7 separate regions of the Homo sapiens genome follow, and all the other regions are linked to region 3. The links are contacts of gene promoters, found by promoter capture Hi-C in blood cells and fetal thymus (Javierre and others, 2016). All regions are on one chromosome and are shown on one strand. The core of a region is centred on a gene start or on the middle of the fragment in contact, and the rest is flanking DNA. Distances in the headings are between cores, read along the strand shown. Region 1 has its middle 8.1 kb from the start of LORICRIN. Region 2 has its middle 24 kb from the start of PGLYRP3. Region 3 holds the start of IVL (involucrin). Region 4 has its middle 3.9 kb from the start of LCE3E. Region 5 has its middle 15 kb from the start of PRR9. Region 6 has its middle 9.7 kb from the start of LORICRIN. Region 7 has its middle 6.3 kb from the start of PRR9.

Region 1 (2,719 bases), core at 2-2,501, 340 kb before region 3:
AACCATGATTTACATCTGGCACAGATTCCTTGGGCCTTCTCTTCTGGGCTAAGAGTATCCCTGGCAATATGGATCTCCCTAACTCTCCATATCCCCATGTAACTCAGGGCTGGACCTCAGAGTAAATATTTGTAAATATGTTGATCAGTCAAAGAGATGATGAGAATTTAATCTCATAGAGGAGGGAAAATATAATCTGATTTTGTTTTCTATGAAAGTATCTTAAATAAATTTGCTATGGCAAACTGCTGGGAGCTAGGAAGTTTGTTAGCTTCTGGTCTGTTCTGAAGGGTAGGGATCAAGGTCTTTCCTCTGCTGAGGTCTTGGGGTCTTGTCAGCGGGGCAATGCTCTAAACCTGCCTGGCCACCAACACCTTGTGAGCTTGGGCAAGGTCTTGTCCCTCAGATCTCAGTTTCTCCATCTATGAAGTTAATGTAATCCACTCCCATCTTAGTAGATATTTTTTATGCCTCCTTCCCATGGCTCTTCTCTGGATAGAGAGGAAGGAGAGATGAGGATGGTCAGAGGCAGTGACAGGGAAGAAGCTAGGTGGGTTGACAAGGATCACAGGCCAATGGGAAAAGAGCATAAAAATGTCATACCTCCCTGTATGCCAGCCTTAGGCTCAAATCAATGGAATTTTGGGAATTTTTCTCCCAGAGAGCATTTCCCACCTGAGCTGAGTATGCAGGAAAAGGGAGGGTGCAGCAGGAGGGCAGGGTGAGGAAAGTAATCTTGCCTTAAGAATAACCTCTGCGAGTGTCATCACCCAGGGTGCGTATAATTGCACAGGATTAAGAAAGGCATGTGGGCAGGCTGCGTTGCTTTAGATCCTCCTGCAATTAGTGTATGCCACTTCAGATCCCAGAGGAAGGATTAATTTGTGTGACGTGTGTTCATATGTCTACAGGTGTGCATGTGTGCCTGCAGCAGGGAATCCCCTGGTGGTGGAGCTGGCCCCTTATCCTTAGTAAATCATTCTGCTACAAAAATTAAAACCAAAAAAAGAAAAAAAAATTTGCTACAAATTTGAAAAGCAAAGCCAAAAAAAAAAAAGTCACCTATAATTCCATCATCCAAATACAGCTGGTAAGTTGTAGTATTTCAAATGTTGTTGAGTATTTTAATCTTGTTCTTGTGTTTTTTCTCTTAATTTATACTTCCTCTTTCTACAAACTCTCAATTTTGGCTGCTGACTCTCCATATGGCAGTGTCATCATGCACAGACCTGGACCCCCATGTCACGCCATGGACTCCATGACTACTAGCTTTAATGGCTGGTCTCCGTGGCCCACTCCCATTCTTACCATGTACACCTTCCAGCTGTCCTGTGTCCACTGTACCCTTGAGAACGCTCTCTTGAATTTCTCCAGATCTTGGTTGTCTCCCTGGTAGGCTGCTGGAAGGGACCTTATCTTTCTTTGTATACACAGTGTTGGCTGCATAGTAGGTGAGGAGAAAGGTTTGTGTGGTGAAATACCCTCTTTTATCTCAAACCTTTACTTCTTGGCCCCCCAACTTCCTTGTGTATAAGCCTTGGTTCCCCCAGACTCTGTCTAGATCCACAGAATCATTGATTTTCCCCAAAATGCGGTTTCCATCTTGTCTTTTTAAAGCTCTCTTCTCTTCACAGGCTTCTGAACCAGGATTCCCCTGGGCATGTGTGGTCTGAAGTGGCCCCTTTTGGTATGTGTGTGAGAGGGCATGAGGAAGGGGAAGAGGGAAGCAGACAGCTTAGTGGTGGCATGTGGAAAATAAGTCATTCTGTAATAGAATGCTTGAGAGAAGTGCTAGCCCATTGCCGGGGGGATGAGGGGATGCAGAGAAGAGAAGCAACTGGAAAAGTCTTCTGGAAAGAGTGAGTTTTGAGATAGGATTGGAAAACAGTAAAAATTGTTGACAGAGGTTTTTCCAGATTCGGACTTTGACTTTCATGTTGCTTTCATGTGTATGAGTGTAAATGTGTGCATATGGTGCAGTGTGTGCACATCTCTGTGCATATATGTGTACATATATCTATGGGTATGGGTGTAGACGTTTCTGTGTGTGGTGTGCGTACATGTCTGTCATATGTATGATCTCTGTACATGTCAATATGTGTATATGTGATGTACATGTACATGCCTGTGTGATGAGCATACACGTCTGTCTGCATGTGTTATGTGTGTACACATGCCTTTGTATGTGGTATGTACATATATCTGTTATGTGTGCACATATGTCTGTCATATGTGTGATCTGTGTACATGTCAATCTGTGTATATGTGATGCACATACATGTGCCTGTGTGTGATGAGTGTACACATCTGTGTGTGCATGTGTTGTGCGTACACATGTCTCTTGGTATGGCATGCACATATAGCTGTATGTTATGTGTGTACATATGTGTGATATGTGTACAAATGTCTACATACACATGTGTAATATGTGTGCACTGTATGTGTGTGATGTGTGTACATATTCCTATGTGTGTCTGTGTGTCTCAGACCTCCACTGTCTTTAATCTCTGTCCTCACACCCTACTCTTCCTCAAGAACCAGTTTCCTTTCTCCTGGAAATGTGAACAGGATTGCTGGCCCTCTTTCCTGGCCTGAGGATTGCTCTCGGATTCTCACTTGTCAGCCAGCCTTGGTGTCTATGGTAACTGCATTGTTACTGTGTATTTGCAGCAACTGTTACTGGATTTGTCCCAGTTACTTCATTTTTCTACTAAAAATC
Region 2 (2,780 bases), core at 192-2,691, 380 kb before region 3:
TGTTTGTGTGTGTGTGGGGTACCAACACCAGTGCTCATTATTATTCATTAGTCCATTTTCCTTATTGAATGCCCACAATCATTTCATTTATCACCAATATTCTTATGGATCCCAAATCTGGAATTTTCATTATTGACTTTCCCTGAAAGGCAAGAATATCCCTTAACTTCATTCCTACTTGCCTTTCTTCTCTTAGTCTTTTTACACACATGTGATGAGGTTCATATTTCAGGGGTGCATTTTATGGTATTGTGGCCAAGTGACCATGAGCTGGCCCTTAGCCCTCCAAGTGAACTTTGGGCACACCACCCTAATACTGAACCAGGCATGTTGGTAACAGTGTGGTGTTCATATAGTAAGCCAAGGGTGACACGTGGAAGGACTCTTATGCTTGATTAGTGCTGTGGAGTCTGCATGGAGCTTCATGATGCATAGCCTTCTGGTGTTTAAGGAAGTTAAAGGTGTGTTGCTGTTTAAAAGCACAGGGAGTCTTGGTTTAGATGCTAGTTTCAATGAAGCCAAGGATACTTGATCAACCTTCTTGGTTTGCTATTCTGTCAAATTTGGGCAACAGTGAAATTCTCTGGGTTGCTATCTAAAGGAAAGAGAGGAAGAACTCACAATATTATGAAGTTGAAGGATAAAATACATATGTTCAAACCGACTAAAGTAAGAGCAAGCAATATTGCCTTCCCTTAGGAGGGCTTTCATTTAGAGATGAGGGGGATGAGGGAGGGATGGACCCACCAGACAACAGATATGTGCCTCACGGGCTCTTCTCCTCATGAGGTGAGTCGGAGCCCCAGAGCTCCGGAGCCCCATTGTTGACAGGGCCTTCTGTTCATAGGCTGTGGACATCAGGGCCTTCTCACATACTGTTTCCTCTGTCTAGAATGTTTCTCCCACCTTCATTTCTTTTTCTGGCCAATTTATATTCAACCTTCAGTTTCCAGTCTTAAGGTCATGTCTTCAGAGAGGAGCCCTCCTTCTGCCAGCCATAAATTCATTCATAAACTTTTCCCTTTCCAACGTTGCGCCATTTAAAGCTTATCTTTAATTCTGTGGCTATTTATTTTATATCTGTCTTCCTCACTGGCCTGTTCCATTTATGAGGGCAGGACCTCCCCAGTGCGTCCCTAGCTCCTGAGTGATGCCAGATACACCAGCACGTAATGGTAGCCCCATAAATATTTGTGGAATGAACGAATAGCTTCAGTATCTTCTTTTGTAAAACTGGGGTTGCAACTGGTGACCTGGGCCTTTTCCAGGTCTGAAATGCTTTGGAGTCTAAGAGTCCTAGTGTGGGCCCTAAGTCCCAGCGGCTGTTGGTGTGGAAGCGGGGTTTAGGGAATAGCAGCAGAAGGGCGCTGGAGTCCTGCCCTGCCTCGCCAGTAGGTGGTGCAGGTGAGCTGGCTCCATGGTCAGGGCTGGGGCTGGGCCAGCCCTGGTGGGTGTGGAGTGGGAGCGCCCTTAGCTGAGCCATTGCCCAGACCTGCCTAATGAGGAGGCAGGGCACCCAGCAGGTACAGGCACAGAAAGGGAGGGAGAATGGCTGGAGATACAAACCTGCTGGGACAGTTGCTTGCTACACGGGTGGGGGGTGGGGGTGGTTGGCATCCTGGTACGTCTGGCCACAAAACTGCTCTTGGCACATCAGGGGCCAGAGTGGTGAGGCTGTCTGTCCCAAGAGTTGGAGGTCAGAGGAACTAAGCCTCCCCTGCCTCCAGGCTGGGGCCCCAGCACTGCCTTGGGACTAGTCTCCTACCTGTCTAGTCTCCTGCTAGCACTGTCCTCATGTATATTCATGCCCACGTTTTACCTCTTTCCCCAAGCTTCCTTCCCAACCCCCTACCACTCAGCAGAGAAAATTGAGGCCATCTGGCAGGATCTCTGTCCACTTCTTGCAACCTTGCAAATGTTCTTGCAACCACATTCCCAAAGCTTCCTTGACATCAGCTTCAGAGGGTCAACTTTTCACTCCTTCCTTCCATCCCATCCTGTTCACATTCCTTGAGCTCTCTTTTTAAACTCATCACTTTTACCTCCTAAATTTATATTTACAGTGGAAACTTTTTTTTTTTTTTTGAGACAGAGTCTCTCTCTGTCTCCCAGGCTGGAGTGCAGTGGTGCGATCTTAGCTCACTGCAACCTCCGTCTCCCGGGTTCAAGCGATTCTCCTGCCTCAGCCTCCTGAATAGCTGGGATTACAGGTGCCCACCACCACGCCTGGCTAATTTTTGTATTTTTAGTACAGATGGGGTTTCACATTGTTGATCAGGCTGGTCTCTTATCTCCTGACCTCAGGTGATCTGCCCACCTCGGCCTCCCAAAGTGCTGCAATTATAGGCGTGAGCCACTGCACCCGACCACATTTTTCTTTAATACAGGTTCAAATTCTGCCATGTATTTATCTCTCAATGTGTGTGTGTCATAGAACATCTAATTCATGCCCAAAGCCAAACTCTTGATCTTGCCTCAAAAGCTCTCCTACCACAGTCTTCCTCACCTCAGTAAATGGCACTTCCACTCTCAGGCCTGGTATTGTGGCCAACTGACCCTGAGCCTGCCCTTAGCTCTCCAAGTGAACTTTGGGCACACCACCCTAATACTGAACCAGGCATGTTGGTAACAGTGTGGTGTTCATATAGTAAGCCAAGGGTGAGATGTGGAAGGACTCTTATGCTTGATTCATGCTATGGAGCCTGCATGGAGCTTCATGATCTGTAGCCAAATGACAAAAACCTTGGGTCACCACTGACTTCTTCTTTCCTCCCATTCTC
Region 3 (2,700 bases), core at 101-2,600:
TGCTCCTGATGGGTATTGACTGGAGGAGGAACAGTCTTGAGGAGCTCCTGACTGAGGGCAGGGGAGAGGGTCACTGGCAGTGTGTGTTGCTGGGACATCTTAGAAGCTACTGTCAACCTGAAAGACAGAAGAGGTCTGATGCACAGGCTGAAGGCAAAGGAAATAGATGAAACCTTGGGAATCTGCAGAAGTATCTGGTTTTTTAGCATCCCCTCTTCCCTTGGGCAGGGTACTGTTCTACCACCTCTGGACTATCATTTCCCAAAAGCAGCAGAGAGAGAAGGGTGGAAATGTGGAGGGGCAGAGAAAGGTCCTCCTAGGAGCCTCCTTGTTCCCAGGTGAGAGCCAACAAGGAGATCTGTCTGCAGGGCTGTTCTGCAAGGGTGGGTCAGGTGCCAGCTCACTGTCTGCTCTTGTCTAGTCCTTGTGTCCACCCTCATCGCTTCACTGACCAAGGAGCAGAGATGCGTTCTGGGATTATGTCACAGTGAGGAGTAAGGCCTTAGGGAATGAAATGTCTCTTGGAGAACACCAAGTCCTAGAAAACCAATAGGCCGTGCCAGAGAGGACCTAAGAGGTCATGGTGTGACCTCCAGACTGGAGCCACAGGACATGCTCTAGGCCTGAATCTCCCATTGGAATGCTGTGTGTTTCTGGGCATGTCACTTAGTCTCCTGGGATTTGGTTTTCCCCCCTGTAAAGCCAGCAGGTTGGCCTATTCAACCCCAGGGCTGCTTTCTCTCCTGACCTTCTGAGGTTTAGCTGCAGTCCTTGTGTCTGGGGTGGGGCTGCGGGAGCTGGAAGGTTGCTGAGAGTTGGAGGTTGTTCTTCCAAGTCTTATACTTCTAAGTTGAGTTTTCCTGTCCCAGCTCTGCCTAGGTTTCTCCAAATAGAAAGGTTTCCCCATTCTGCCATCCCTCTGTGCAGCATAGCCAAAAGGTAGAAGCTCTTCCCTGAACCTCTCCCTCCATAAAGAAGGCAAAATGATGGTCTGTCAAAACCCAAGAGGTTTAGGAAAGAAGTTGAATGCTATTCCCCTCCTCCCTTCCATAATTCTCTCTCACACACAAATCCAAAAATATGGTCACAAGAAAAGATGGGACATAGGATGATTACTCTCTGTTCTGCACTTCTGTGCCAAGGCACTTTTCTCTCAGTACTCTGACTCGAGTCCCCCTAGAATGAAAGTCCAGCTGAATCCAGCCCCAGAGTAATGCCCACCCCCACCCAGGCTGCCCACCCCCACCACATCGTATGCTGTTGGAGGTCCCGAGTCCCAACCCTGGTTCTACCATCCGACACTTACCAGACTCACAGTAAGGCTGAGGCAGAGGCTTTGGTGGAGTGCTGAGCTGAGCAGGAGTCAGGGCACTCTTTATATCATTCTGCAGCCTGGCCTCCCTCCAGGTTGAAGGTGATGGACAGGTTTCACCACTCTAGTTGGTCAACTTCCTCTAACCCCTTCCTGACTCACCACAGGCATCTTAAGCAGCAAACCCTTTAGGGCCCCATTTCCCAGGGACACACAGCTCCTGCCTGGCCAGAGGATTCTGGTAGCTCAACTATTCCTGTGATGCTTTTCTGACCTAGGCACAGGGAGCTGAGTGAGGCATCCTACTGTTTTGTGACCTTAGTCAAACTTCTGCTCTGAATCTCAATTTTTCCACTTTCAAAATGAGTTTGTTCTCATTATTAGGCCAAAAGATTCACTTTCAAGGGCATGAAATGGAAAGTTATGTGTCTTTCGGGGATGTCCAGGCTGGGTTATATGTTTGAAGATAGAGTCACTTCCCATGAAGGGGTGGTATTTCTGGGGTGTTCTCTTGGGCCACAAGCCCTTCCTCTCTCAGAATATATTTTTTAACTCCATCCTATGTGGAAATAAACTCTGTCTTTGGTGGAGGGAGTTTGACTTTAGGCCAAGTAGAGTCAAGTAGAAGGCTTCTAGGAGTCCTCTGCTGCTGCCACTTGCTGCCCAGCCTCTATGCCCGAGGCTGCAGTTAGAGAAGTTCTCAGGAATGCCATGCTCATAAGAACTCCAAAGCACGGCCCACTCTAGGCAAGGAAACAAGATTGAATCTACACAATATAAAAATAAGTATTGCTTTTTATAATGACAAACCAAACTACTTTCTTAAGTACTTTTTTAAATGCATGAAGGTATAAAGATCAGAATCAAATCATCCATTTCCTGTTGTAAATCATACTCTAGAAATAGCTTAAGAAATCTTTCAGAGTGGGGATTTGAGCACATCTCTCCCCCGTGCCAACAGTGCACCAGCACACTTGAAATAACATTCAAACTCACTGCCGTGGTTTAAAAGACCCTGGGTACCTGGCTTCTGCCTTCTTCTGGGGCCCCAATTCATGTCAATCTCTCCCTGAGAGGTATATTCTTACCTCACTGAGGGCCTTCGGTTCCTGAGATGAGCCCAGAGCTCTCCACCTGGGGGCTTGGCACCTGCTCTCCTTCTGCCCACCGGCCCCTCCCCAGGTCTCTGGTTCTTTTATGCCTTTCAGCTTCAGTGTCAATGTTGGGGTCTGTCAGAGATCCTTCTCTGTGTACCATATCTAAAGGATTGGTACTTAATTTCACTTATAACAATCTAGAGTAATTTATTTGCATTTGTTCACTTGCTTATTGTCTATCTTTCCCACTGGAAAATAAGCTAAGAGCAGCGTATACCTGGTATGTTTTCC
Region 4 (2,700 bases), core at 55-2,554, 340 kb after region 3:
CCTCTCTGTGCTGACCCATGAGGGCTCTCTTACCAGATAAATGACTGATTTCTTTAAGGAACCTTTAGCACAGTGACCTGATGTGAAAAATTTGGCCTCTTTTGACACTCCCCTGCACTCTTAGCCCCATTGGTACAGGCCTCTTGCCTTGATAGCCACATTCCCAGCAGGACTGTGGCAGTACAGCTATGCCTAGCTGCCCTCCAAACTGTCCACTGGCTCAGGGAAACTCATGAACTCTGGCCATGTCAAGCAGTAAGGGACTGGCTGCTTCTCTTTTCCCCATTCTCCTTTCCATTTTCCCTTTCCAATTATTTTTCACTCTCCAGAATAGCCAGAGAACTGTTCAGCAAGTCCAATGATGACACTGAGACCTGAAATTTTAGTCTTCCTGGGTTTTGCGTGTGTGTGTGTGTGTGTGTGTGTGTTTTATTGTTTTGTTTTGTTTTGTTTTGAGATGGAATCTTGCTCTGCCGCCCAGGCTGGAGTGCAGTGGCACAATCTCAGCTCACTGCAAACTCCGTCTCCCTGGTTCAAGCGATTCTCCTGCCTCAGCCTCCTGGGTAGTTGGGATTACAGGCACCAGCCAACACACCCAGCTATTTTTGTATTTTTAGTATAGATGGGGTTTCACCACGTTGGCAAGGCTGGTCTTGAACTCCTGACCTCAAGTGATCCACCCACCTTCACCTCCCAAAGTGTTGAGATTACAAGCATGAGCCACCGCTACTGGCCAAGTCTTTCTGTTTTTTAGGCATTGATAAGTTCTACAATTTGTCCCCTTGAAATTTCTATGACTTTTCCTCTAGTGGAGGGTAAGAGTAATAACCTGTTGCTTCCCCATGTGAAATGTAAGGGGAAAATCCACAGCATTCTATCCAGTTTTGAAAACTTCTCATTACTATAACAAGAGAAGAGTGATAGCATCTCAGGGCTCCTTCCAACCTCTTTATAAGGTGGAGAGTTATTTGTGCCTATTGTTTACAAGTTGGCAGTTATTTTTGTCAAATCTCAATAAAACAGGAAAAGCTTAATCTTACTTTCTCATATATGACCTGGATATTATATGGAAGCATCTCTGTGGTGATGAGAAGAGCTGTATATCTCAAAATAATAATGCTTATTGGATGTGAAGTTTGTGACCCAGATGAAAAACTAGGGACTCATGTTTTCACTTAAGAAGACAAGGTTGGGAATGATTGAGCAAGGATCTCCAAAAATCTGCTCTTCCATTAAAAACACCTTGAAAATGAAAAATTGTGAAAATCAACTTTTGCAAAACTCTGGAGATTTACCAAAGGCTTGCAAAAATATTAGAGTGTTCACTTAAGAAAAGCAGTTGAATATGGGTAAGAGCAGTGAGCTTTGTGACATTTTAACTTGCCCTATTATCATCTCCCTGTTCCCAGTGCCATAATAGTCTTGAAATCTAAAATGCTAGTAGCACATGGAGGTAACAGAACATATCTGAAACTATCCAAAAACCCCATCCCTAGAGAAATGTCATTATCTGACTATATGGCACATAATGAAGATCCCATTCCCATTTCCCCTAGAAATCCCAACTAGCCAAGCTTGTTTTCATTCCAGTTGACTCAGAACTCTCTCACTGAAAACAGCTTTTACCCCAGGGTGTTTGCCAAAAACAATCAGTAAAAAATGTTTAGCATCACAGCTGCCTGTGATGGTGATAATAGTTGGGCAAATCAGAAGTTGACCAAAAACTTAGATGGAAAATCTGAGGAATGAGATTCTCATAGAGAGTTTTAAAAATCTATGACACATTTCTGGAAATCTAGGAGACTATGTGGACTTACAGGGTGTGTGCATGTACAGAAAAGACCTGGGAAGACCCTAATATCTCAACTTTGACTGATCTTGAAGTTCCATCCAAGCAGGAAATGAAACCTAAGACAGATTTGTAAACTGTCTTCTGAAGTCTTGAAAACATGCCCCAACATACACACAGAGGTCCTCAGCAAAGGTTGAAAGACATTAACTCAAGGCATTTAAGGAAATCTCTGTCTACTAAGCTAACTGAGTACAGAGTTAAATGACTACACACAATAAAGAATACAGATTTTACAAAATTGGTTCAGGAAAGTCATGAAGCAAATGGACAGTGAAAACAAACAGCAACAAACCCCAGAGAGGGTTGGGAAATTTGATTTCCAGGATTTTATATCATTTTAAATGTCCAATTATTAACCAAAAAAGAAAGAAAGCTACAAATAAACAAGAAAGTATGACCTACACAAGGGGCAAAGTCCAGGGAGGTAGTCAAGAGAGACTGTCCCTGAAGAAGTTTAAACATTGGTTTTACTAGACAAAGATAAAAATCAACTATTTTAAATGTGCTTAAAGTACTAAAATAAACTACGTCTTAAGAATTAAAAGAAAACATAAGAATGTTGTCTTGCCAAATAGAGAATAACAACAAAGAATTAAAAAGAATTTCTTAAAACAACCAAATAGAAATTTGAGGCTTGACAAATATAATAACTGAAATTTAAAATTGACTAGAAGGGCTCAACAGCAGGTTTGAACTAGAAGAACAAATCAGTGAACTTGAAGATAGGTCAATTGTGATTATCCAACCCGAGGAACAGAAAGAAATAAGATTGAATAAAAATTAACAGAGCCTTCAGAGGCCTGTGAGTAACCATCAAGCCCACCAACATGTTTATAATAAGAATCCCA
Region 5 (2,814 bases), core at 106-2,605, 320 kb before region 3:
TTTTAAGCTGGACATTTCTCCAACATTGTATTTCTTTCAGCATGTTGCTTTTTTTTTCTTCCTCTTTCTGCCTCTGCCTCTGCCAGTTGACTTTGAGGCCCTTGAGGGGAGTGGCTTTGTCTATTATTTTCTGCATATCTAGTAGCTGGCTCCATAGCAGGCATAGAAGGCTCCCATTAAATGCTTATCAAATGAATGAATAGATGAATGGACACAGCATGCCAGTTTGATGAACGATCCTCACATTTGTATTTGACTGCCAACATTCTTTGTGCCAGGGATTTGCCACTAGCCTGTAGTATGGAGCTGGAGACTGGGCTTTCCTTTCTTGGGACCTTGAACTTGGGTGCTCTGAGTGGGTTCCCCTCTTGTGTCACATATGTATGACATACTTCAGGGTCCCTGTTGAGACCTGCTTAGAACCACTGGATGTCATAGGTGGAAGAAGCCATAAAGAGCATCTAGTGCAATCCCATTCTTTCACAGATAAGGGGGCTGAAAAGACCTCATATCCCCAGCTCTTGTACCTAGCCAAGAGCTGCGATCCAGAGGGCAGTCAGATGGACTGATGGTTTGATTTCATGTGAGCTGAAACAGAGTGACTCTTTAATGCTCTTTGAGGCCGTGGGTGGAAGTGCTGCTTTGCTTTGCAACATCTAGGGCTATGGGCACTGAGGTAGATTTGTCACCTGGAGATTCTAGTAGAAGTAATGACAATTACCAACTGGTACTTCTTGCTGCCTCACGTCCTGCCCCTCCTCATGGCCTGTCACAAACACCTTGCACAACTGTCCTTGTCCTCCAAATGCACATGGGGCAACTCTTTCCATGAGTCAGCTCCACTAAGCTGTGTCATTACTCAGGCTGTGTGGCCTCAGGAATGTCACCTGGGGTCTGCAGGATTGGAGTGGGGCAGGGAGCTGGAGCATGGTTCCCTGGTGAGGCTTTGCCTGGGCCGTGTGAACAGGGACAGGCCACATTCTGAGGAGCCTGGCTCTACGCCAGTTCTTGACCCCTGCTCTGCCTCTGAATCTAAAATTCTCATATTTGAAACTGGGTCAAGGTAAACGTGGGTGATGTGTTGGTGGTAGATATGATGATATAAAGACTGGAGTGTCAGAGTCGATGTTTTAACTCCAGCCTGGGTTAGACTTCAGGTGAGTACTCAACATATGACTGGAGAAACACACTTGTCATATTTTGATCAGGGCTCTTTAAAGGTGAGTAAGTTGGATGTGATTTTCATTTTGTATTTTGTACTATATCTTTAAAAAATCCAAGTCCGGAGAGGGTGAGGACAGAGATGCGTACGATGGAGACCCTCACACTTTGTGGGGACATTAGCACTGGGGATCTTCTGAGGCCAGGGACCTTTTCTTTCTCCTCAAACTGGGGATAACCTTAAGGCCAGGACTGTGTCTCTCCACTGCATTCCCTCTGCAGGCTCCAGAGGGTGGGGCTGTCTTCTTCCTCATCCCGGGGTCTCCCTGAGGTTTGCTATGTCCTGTCTTCACACTGGGGCTTCCCTGGCAGCAAGGGCTTCCTCCAACACCGGATGAAGTCTAGGAACACTTAGGCCTCAAATTGAGGAACCTGTGATGGACAAAAATAGTAGCATGCATTACAAAAGGGCAGAATTGTCATTTTCCTTCTGCCTCTGTGGCCAGCATGGCAGGCATTTGGCAAAGGGCAAGGGGAGGCATGGTTCCAGCATCTGGAATCATCACACTGACTTTGTGTATGTATGTGTGTGCGTGTGTGTGTGTGGTATATGGTGTGAGAGAGTGCAGTGTGTGAACCTCATGCAGGTGAGTCTCTGGGGGGTGACGGGGAAGAGGTGCTCCCTCTTCTAGGAGGACATGGTAGGGGCAGAGAAGCAGGCATGGGCTGAGTAAACCCATGCAAAGTCTGATTAGGGCTTAAAGTGTGTTTGCCATCTGGGCCTGACTCAGCCTCTGGTGTCAAAGGTTCAGGCGAGGTTGCTTTGTGAACAGGGTGGAGTAGTCCGGGTCCACTTGTGGAAACTCTATAAATGGAAGCCTGGGCTTCGGTGTTGGCTTCCCTCCTGGTTTGGGGAAGTGCTGCTCAGTCCTGCCTCCTCCCACTCACCTTCCCACACCTGGACACCTGCAGCCAGGCATCTTTCATGAAGGCCTCTTCTGTCCTAGAGTAGGTCTGAGCTGGGATTTTCTTTGAGCAGCAAACCAATCCAGCTGCATCCAGGAACCCCACAGACTGCCCTGCTTGGTACCTCCCTTTGCTCCTCAGTCCACTCTGTTCTGTTCTGGCCTCTGTGTCCCCACTCAGGCTGTCCTCATCAAGGTCACCAGCCACTCTGCATTTCTTGACCAGTTAGTATTGGTTGACTCCATTGATTTTCCTTCCTTTCTTGGACACCTGTCTTCTCTTGTCTTTCCAGTCTCCACCCTCCTAGTTTCTCTTCCTTCACTGACCGCTCTTTGTCAGCTGGCTGTACAGGCTCCTTCTGCGCTGTCCAACCTTGAGATCTTGTGGAGTCCTCAGCTCGGTAGGGCCCTCTCTTCTTCTCCTTGGGTGATCTCAGCCACTCACATATCTTTAAATACCTTCTATGTGATGACAGCTCTCAAATATGTACATTTTTGGCCCAGATATCTCTGAGCTTCAGACATGTACCCACATATCTCCTAGTCCTCACCTCTCTGCATCCACCTAGTGGCCTAAGCCATAAACTTGGGAGTATTTCTGCCTTCTTTCTCCTCCTTTACCCCACACATTGAGTCCCCCTGCTACTCCTGTTAGTTATTCCTCCAAAACACTTAGCGTCACCCTCTT
Region 6 (2,700 bases), core at 48-2,547, 360 kb before region 3:
ATGAAAGAAAAGGGCACTGGTTAGCAACACAAAAACATAGAAAATATAAAACTCACAGGGTAAAAGTATTATATAGTCAAATTTAAAATGCTTTAATGCTGTAATGGTGATGTGTAAATTCCTTATATCTTTAGTATGAAAGTTAAAAGACTAAGCTATTAAAAATAATAATAGCTACAATAATTTGTTAAGGGATATACAGTACAAAAAGATGTAAATCGTGACATCAAAAATTTAAAATGAAAAATATTAAATTTATGGGGGAGGGGTGAAGTAAAAGCATAAAGTTATTTTTATGTGAACATAGTTGTTATCTGTTTAAAATAACCAGTTATAACTATAAGATGTTTTTGTAACCTCAAGGTAACCCACAAAACAAAAACCTATAGTAGATAAACAAAAGATAAAAGTAATAAATCAATGCAAACCTCTAGAGAAAATCACTTAATTACAAAGGAAGACAGTAAGAGAGGAAGAAAAGAACAAAGGATCTACAATAAAACCAGAAAACAATTAAAAAAATGACAGTCGTCTTTACCTATCAATACTTCCTTGAATGTAAATGGATTAAATTCTCAATCAAAAAACATGTAGTGACCGAATGGATTAAAAAATCAAGATCCATCTATTGCTGCCTATAAGAGACTCATTTCACCTGTAAGAACACACATAGACTGAAAGTGAAGGGATAACAAAAAATATTCTATGCAAATGAAACACAAAAGATGGCAGGAGTAGTTATATTTACATCAGATAAAATAGGCTCTAAGTAAAAAACTGTAAAGCAAGGCAAAGGAGGTCATTGTAGAATGACAAAGGAGTCAATGAATCAAGAGAATATAACAATTGTAAATGTTTATGCAACCAACATTGGAGCACCTAAATATATAAGGCAAATATTAATACACCTGAAAGGAAAGATAGATTATAATACAATAACAGCAGGTGACTTCAATATCCCACTTCTAGTAATGGACAGATAATCTACACAGACAATCAATAAGAAAACATTGTACTTAAACTACATTCTAGACTGAACGAACCTAACAGACATATACAGAACATTCCACCAAATGGTAAAGAATGCACATTCTTCTTAAGCACACACAGAACATTCTACAGGATAGATCATATGTTAGACAACAAGACAAGTCTTAACAAATAAGAAGATTAAAATCATATCAAGCATCTTTTCTGACCTTAATGGTATGAAACAAGGAATCAATAACAAGAAGAATTTTGGAAAATTTACAAATACGTGGAAATTATACAATACCCTGCTGAACAATCAATGCGTCAATGAAAAACTTAAAAGGGAAATTACAAAATATCTTGAGACAAGCAAAAATAGACACACAACATACCCAGACATAAAGGGAACAGCACAAGTATCTCTGAGTGAAGTTTACAGCAATAAATGCCTACATCAAAAAGGAATAAAGGTCCTGAATAAACAACTTAAAATAACATCTCAGGGAACTAGGAAAACAAGAATAAAATAAGTCCAAAGTTAGCAGAAGAATGGAAATAATAAAGATAATAGCAGAAATAAATGCAGTAGAGGAAAAAGAAACAGTGGAAAAGATCAACAAACCTTGAGTTGGTTTTTTGAAAAGATAAAATCAACAAACCTTTAGCTGGACTACTTAGGAAAAAAAGAGAATACTCAAATAAATAGAATCAGAAATGAAAGAGGAGACATTACAACTGATACAAGAGAAATACAAAGGATCGTAAGAGACTACTATGAATAATTATTACATACCAATAAATTGGATAGCCTGGAAGAAATGAACAAATTCCTAGAAATATTCAAGCTATCGAACTGAATCCCAAAGAAATATAAAATCTGAACAGATCAATAACTAGTAGGGAGATTAAATTAGTTATAAAAAGTCTTCCATCAAAGAAAATCCCAGGATCCAATGGCTTCACTGCTCAATTCTACCAAACATTTAAAGAACTAATATCAATCCTTTCCAAGCTCTTCCAAAAATGAAAGACAAGGGAATACTTTCAAACTCATTTTATGAGGCTAGAATTACCCTGAAATCAAAGTCAGATAGAACACTACAAGAAAAGAAAATTAGAACCCAATGTCCCTGATGAACACAGATGTAAAAATCTTCAACAAAGTTATTAGTACACTGAGTTAAAAAGGGCCGAGTGTGGTGGCTCACGCCTGTAATCCCAGCACTTTGGGAGGCCGAGGCGGGTGGATTGCCTGAGGTCAGGAATTCATGACCAGTCTGGCCAACATGGTGAAACCCTGTCTCTATTAAAAATACAAAAAAAAAAAAAAAAAAAAAAAAAAAAAAAAAAAAATTGCAGGGTGTGGTGGCGTGCACCTGTAATCCCAGCTACTAGGGAGGCTGAGGCAGGGGAATTGCTTGAACCAGGGAGGTGGAGGTTGCAGTGAGTCAAGATCACACCACTGCACTCCAGCCTGGGCAACGGAGTGAGATTCCATCTCAAAAAAAAAAAAAAAAAAAAAAAGCACATTGAAAGGATCATTCACTATGATGAAGTGGGACTTGTTTTGTGAATGAAAGGGTGGTTTAAAAATGCAAATCTATAAATGTGATGCACCACATGAACAGAATGAAGGACAAAAACCATATGAATCACTCCCAATAGATGTAGAAAAAACATTTGATGAAATTCAACATATTTTCTGATAAAAACTCTCAGAAGATCAGA
Region 7 (2,700 bases), core at 19-2,518, 300 kb before region 3:
GATCTTAAAAGTCCTCAGACTCCTCTGACCCATTCATCTGCATATTACAGGGCAATGTCTCTGATAGAGCTGAATGGTGCAGAATTTGGTTTCCTGCAGAGCGGGTGCCCCTGGGCAGCTTGCGAATTCCTGGGAGGAAGTCCACCACTCCTCTCCCTTCCTTTCCTCCTGTGTCACCCACACAGGGGGTCTGAATCAGAGGTGTGAATTCAGGAAAGAGCTGTAAATCACAAGCCCTCAGGGCCAGACGGGACTTGAGAGGCCACCTGATTCTATCTCCTTGTTTTAGCCCCAGCACGTGCTTTAAACAGGAGACACAGAACTATTTATTGACTGCGTTTTTTAGATGAGGAAACTGAGGCACAAAAGTGTCAAAGATCTTGTTCAAGATTACGTGGTCAGCTCATGTCTGGTCTGGGCAATGGTCCACATAAAAAACACTTAGCTATTGTCAATAATGCCGCAATAAACATACGTGTGCATGTGTCTTTATAGCAGCATGATTTATAGTCCTTTGGGTATATACCCAGTAATGGAACCAACCCAAATGTCCAACAATGATAGACTGGATTAAGAAAATGTGGCACATATACACCATGGAATGCTATGCAGCCATAAAAAATGATGAGTTCATGTCCTTTGTAGGGACATGGATGAAATTGGAAATCATCATTCTCAGTAAACTATCGCAAGAACAAAAAACCAAACACCGCATATTCTCACTCATAGGTGGGAATTGAACAATGAGATCACATGGACACAGGAAGGGGAATATCACACTCTGGGGACTGTTGTGGGGTGGGGGGAGGGGGGAGGGATAGCATCGGGAGATATACCTAATGCTAGATGACGAGTTAGTGGGTGCAGCGCACCAGCATGGCACATGTATACATATGTAACTAACCTGCACAATGTGCACATGTACCCTAAAACTTAAAGTATAATAATTAAAAAACAAAAACAAAAACACTTAGCAGACCAGTGTATTGGGGATTCCTTATAAGCTTTGGGAAGACAACAAAGACACAGACCAGCCAGTGGCTGTTCACAGTTTGGGATCACAGGAAATACTCACATGTACATGCCGTCATCTATAGGGTGTTCAGGGACTTCAGGTCAAAGATCACCAACACAGATGGTGGGGAGGAAGGATGTTCCCCAGTTACTTAAATTTGTTGTAGATCTTCAACTTTTTCCCTTTTGAGTTTGATTTCTGGCGAACCTTGGCCTAAATCAGGATTAGAAATCCTGGATGCTTTCTACAACCGACACGCTGTGACTTTGGTTGTTCCCCTCTCTGGACCTTCGCTTCCTCATGTAGACACTGAGGATATTTTAAATGCCACGTTCAGCTCTGATATTCGGCAATATGAGCATCTCCTTCTGGCTCCTACTGTGGGCCCAACCTGGGAATGGGGTGGTGAGGTGGCCCCTAACTCTACTTGCCTTCAGAGATATTTGTCATCCTTTTGTGGAACTCCCTGTTTCTCCCTCAAATGCACTGCTTCTCACAACAGATAGCAGGAAGCTTTTGCTGCAGTAGGTGATGAGTTGTGACTCCGAGTGTGTACATAGATACTAGAGTACTGTTGGCATCTTGGCTTCCTAAGTTCAGTTGCCCACACTAGGGGCTTGATATAAGTTATCTGACTTCATCACCCCACCTTGCCCCTTGGTGAGACTTTTCTTCTCATTCCTCAGGTGAAGAGCTCCCTTCTCCCACTGAGGCGAAGCATTTTGCCCGGCTCCACAGCTGGCTGGTGCAGTGCTTGCTTGGAGCCCATGTCTGTAGGATGCCAAGCCCTTTCCCTTTCCTTGCTGCTGCCCGAGGTGAGGGACCCACATGGAGGTAGACTGCATCTTCCTGGCAAGGCATTAGGAGGGCTGGCAGGATCTGTATCTTGTGGCTGAAGGGGAAAGTGGCCAAGGACAAGACTGCAACAAGGGCCAGGGCTGCCTTTCAGCCCCAGGCCATTCATGCTGAGTCCCCTTCCCCTCTCCCCGCTGTCGCATTCTGGGGATAACTCCATGCCACGAGATTAAGGAGCACAGTGGACAGGGGCTCAGTCCAGAGCAATCCTCTCTTGTTTGGGAAAGTGGCTCTGCAGCCTCTGAGCATCCAATCATTGGTTATTACTGCATGTCAGCGATGCATGCCCGGCTGCCCCTTCTCAAAGGGCAGGCTGGTGGGAGAGTCAGGTTACGAACACGTGGCCAGAATGTGAAGTGATAAGGGGAGGAAGGCATGGAAGCTCTGAGACCACAGAGTGGGGCATCTAACCAGTTTGGGGGTGGGATGTGGGGAAGATTTTTGGAGCAGGTGACCCCTGAGTTGACTTAAAGGATGAGGATTTGCCCAGGAGGATCATTCAGAGGAAGATTCAGTGGAGGCAGAGCAAATGATAGAGAAGGGGGTGTAAAGTCACAAAGGCCAGAGACTCTGTGTTGTGTGCCAGGAAATGCCAGCAGTTACCTGTTACTGGGCTGTAAAGTTCTAGAAGGAGATGGAGAAATGGCCTTATGGCTAGAGAAGGAGTCAGGGGCTTGATTCTGAAGGCTTTTGCATGACAGAATGTTATTTGAGCTGCCCTCTAGGCAAAGGGGAGACTCAAGGATTTTAAGCAAGGACATCATGTATAAATTTGAATTTTAGCAAGACTGCCTTGGCTGGCTTCCACTGGAGTAAGAACTGGAGGAAGG

Evidence for each region. The method cuts DNA at HindIII sites, captures the fragments that hold promoters and counts their contacts. A CHiCAGO score of 5 or more calls a contact.
Region 1: a contact is called between a fragment that was not itself captured here and the fragment with the promoter of IVL in region 3, in 3 of 17 cell types (endothelial precursors, M2 macrophages and erythroblasts). The highest score is 6.1, in endothelial precursors.
Region 2: a fragment that was not itself captured here is called in contact with the fragment with the promoter of IVL in region 3 in 4 of 17 cell types (M1 macrophages, M2 macrophages, M0 macrophages and 1 more); the score reaches 9.3 in M1 macrophages.
Region 4: a fragment that was not itself captured here is called in contact with the fragment with the promoter of IVL in region 3 in 1 of 17 cell types (naive CD4 T cells); the score reaches 5.4 in naive CD4 T cells.
Region 5: a fragment that was not itself captured here is called in contact with the fragment with the promoter of IVL in region 3 in 7 of 17 cell types (endothelial precursors, megakaryocytes, erythroblasts and 4 more); the score reaches 10.4 in endothelial precursors.
Region 6: a fragment that was not itself captured here is called in contact with the fragment with the promoter of IVL in region 3 in 1 of 17 cell types (M2 macrophages); the score reaches 7.2 in M2 macrophages.
Region 7: a contact is called between a fragment that was not itself captured here and the fragment with the promoter of IVL in region 3, in 7 of 17 cell types (M2 macrophages, M1 macrophages, M0 macrophages and 4 more). The highest score is 10.3, in M2 macrophages.

The regions. Positions count from the first base shown.
Region 1 is chr1:153,250,265-153,252,983 of GRCh38, reverse strand. No RefSeq gene overlaps it. Among named protein-coding and RNA genes, the nearest start is that of LORICRIN, 8.1 kb to the left of the region's middle. The HindIII fragment of the contact is 3,465 bases long and covers 1-2,719 here.
Region 2 is chr1:153,287,464-153,290,243 of GRCh38, reverse strand. No RefSeq gene overlaps it. Among named protein-coding and RNA genes, the nearest start is that of PGLYRP3, 24 kb to the left of the region's middle. The HindIII fragment of the contact is 786 bases long and covers 1,049-1,834 here.
Region 3 is chr1:152,907,196-152,909,895 of GRCh38, reverse strand. IVL (involucrin) reads right to left here and starts at 1,350. Exons shown (of 2, transcript NM_005547.4): 1 at 1,307-1,350; 2 at 1-117. The coding sequence starts at 98. RefSeq lists silencers at 110-1,310, 1,683-1,735, promoters at 1,356-1,590, 1,310-2,249, 110-2,700, enhancers at 1,470-1,749, 2,668-2,700, 2,583-2,700 and a cis regulatory region at 1,504-2,000. The HindIII fragment of the contact is 6,184 bases long and covers 1-2,700 here.
Region 4 is chr1:152,569,319-152,572,018 of GRCh38, reverse strand. No RefSeq gene overlaps it. Among named protein-coding and RNA genes, the nearest start is that of LCE3E, 3.9 kb to the right of the region's middle. The HindIII fragment of the contact is 545 bases long and covers 1,032-1,576 here.
Region 5 is chr1:153,230,725-153,233,538 of GRCh38, reverse strand. No RefSeq gene overlaps it. Among named protein-coding and RNA genes, the nearest start is that of PRR9, 15 kb to the right of the region's middle. The HindIII fragment of the contact is 3,185 bases long and covers 1-2,814 here.
Region 6 is chr1:153,267,991-153,270,690 of GRCh38, reverse strand. No RefSeq gene overlaps it. Among named protein-coding and RNA genes, the nearest start is that of LORICRIN, 9.7 kb to the right of the region's middle. The HindIII fragment of the contact is 3,713 bases long and covers 1-2,700 here.
Region 7 is chr1:153,209,889-153,212,588 of GRCh38, reverse strand. No RefSeq gene overlaps it. Among named protein-coding and RNA genes, the nearest start is that of PRR9, 6.3 kb to the left of the region's middle. The HindIII fragment of the contact is 524 bases long and covers 1,007-1,530 here.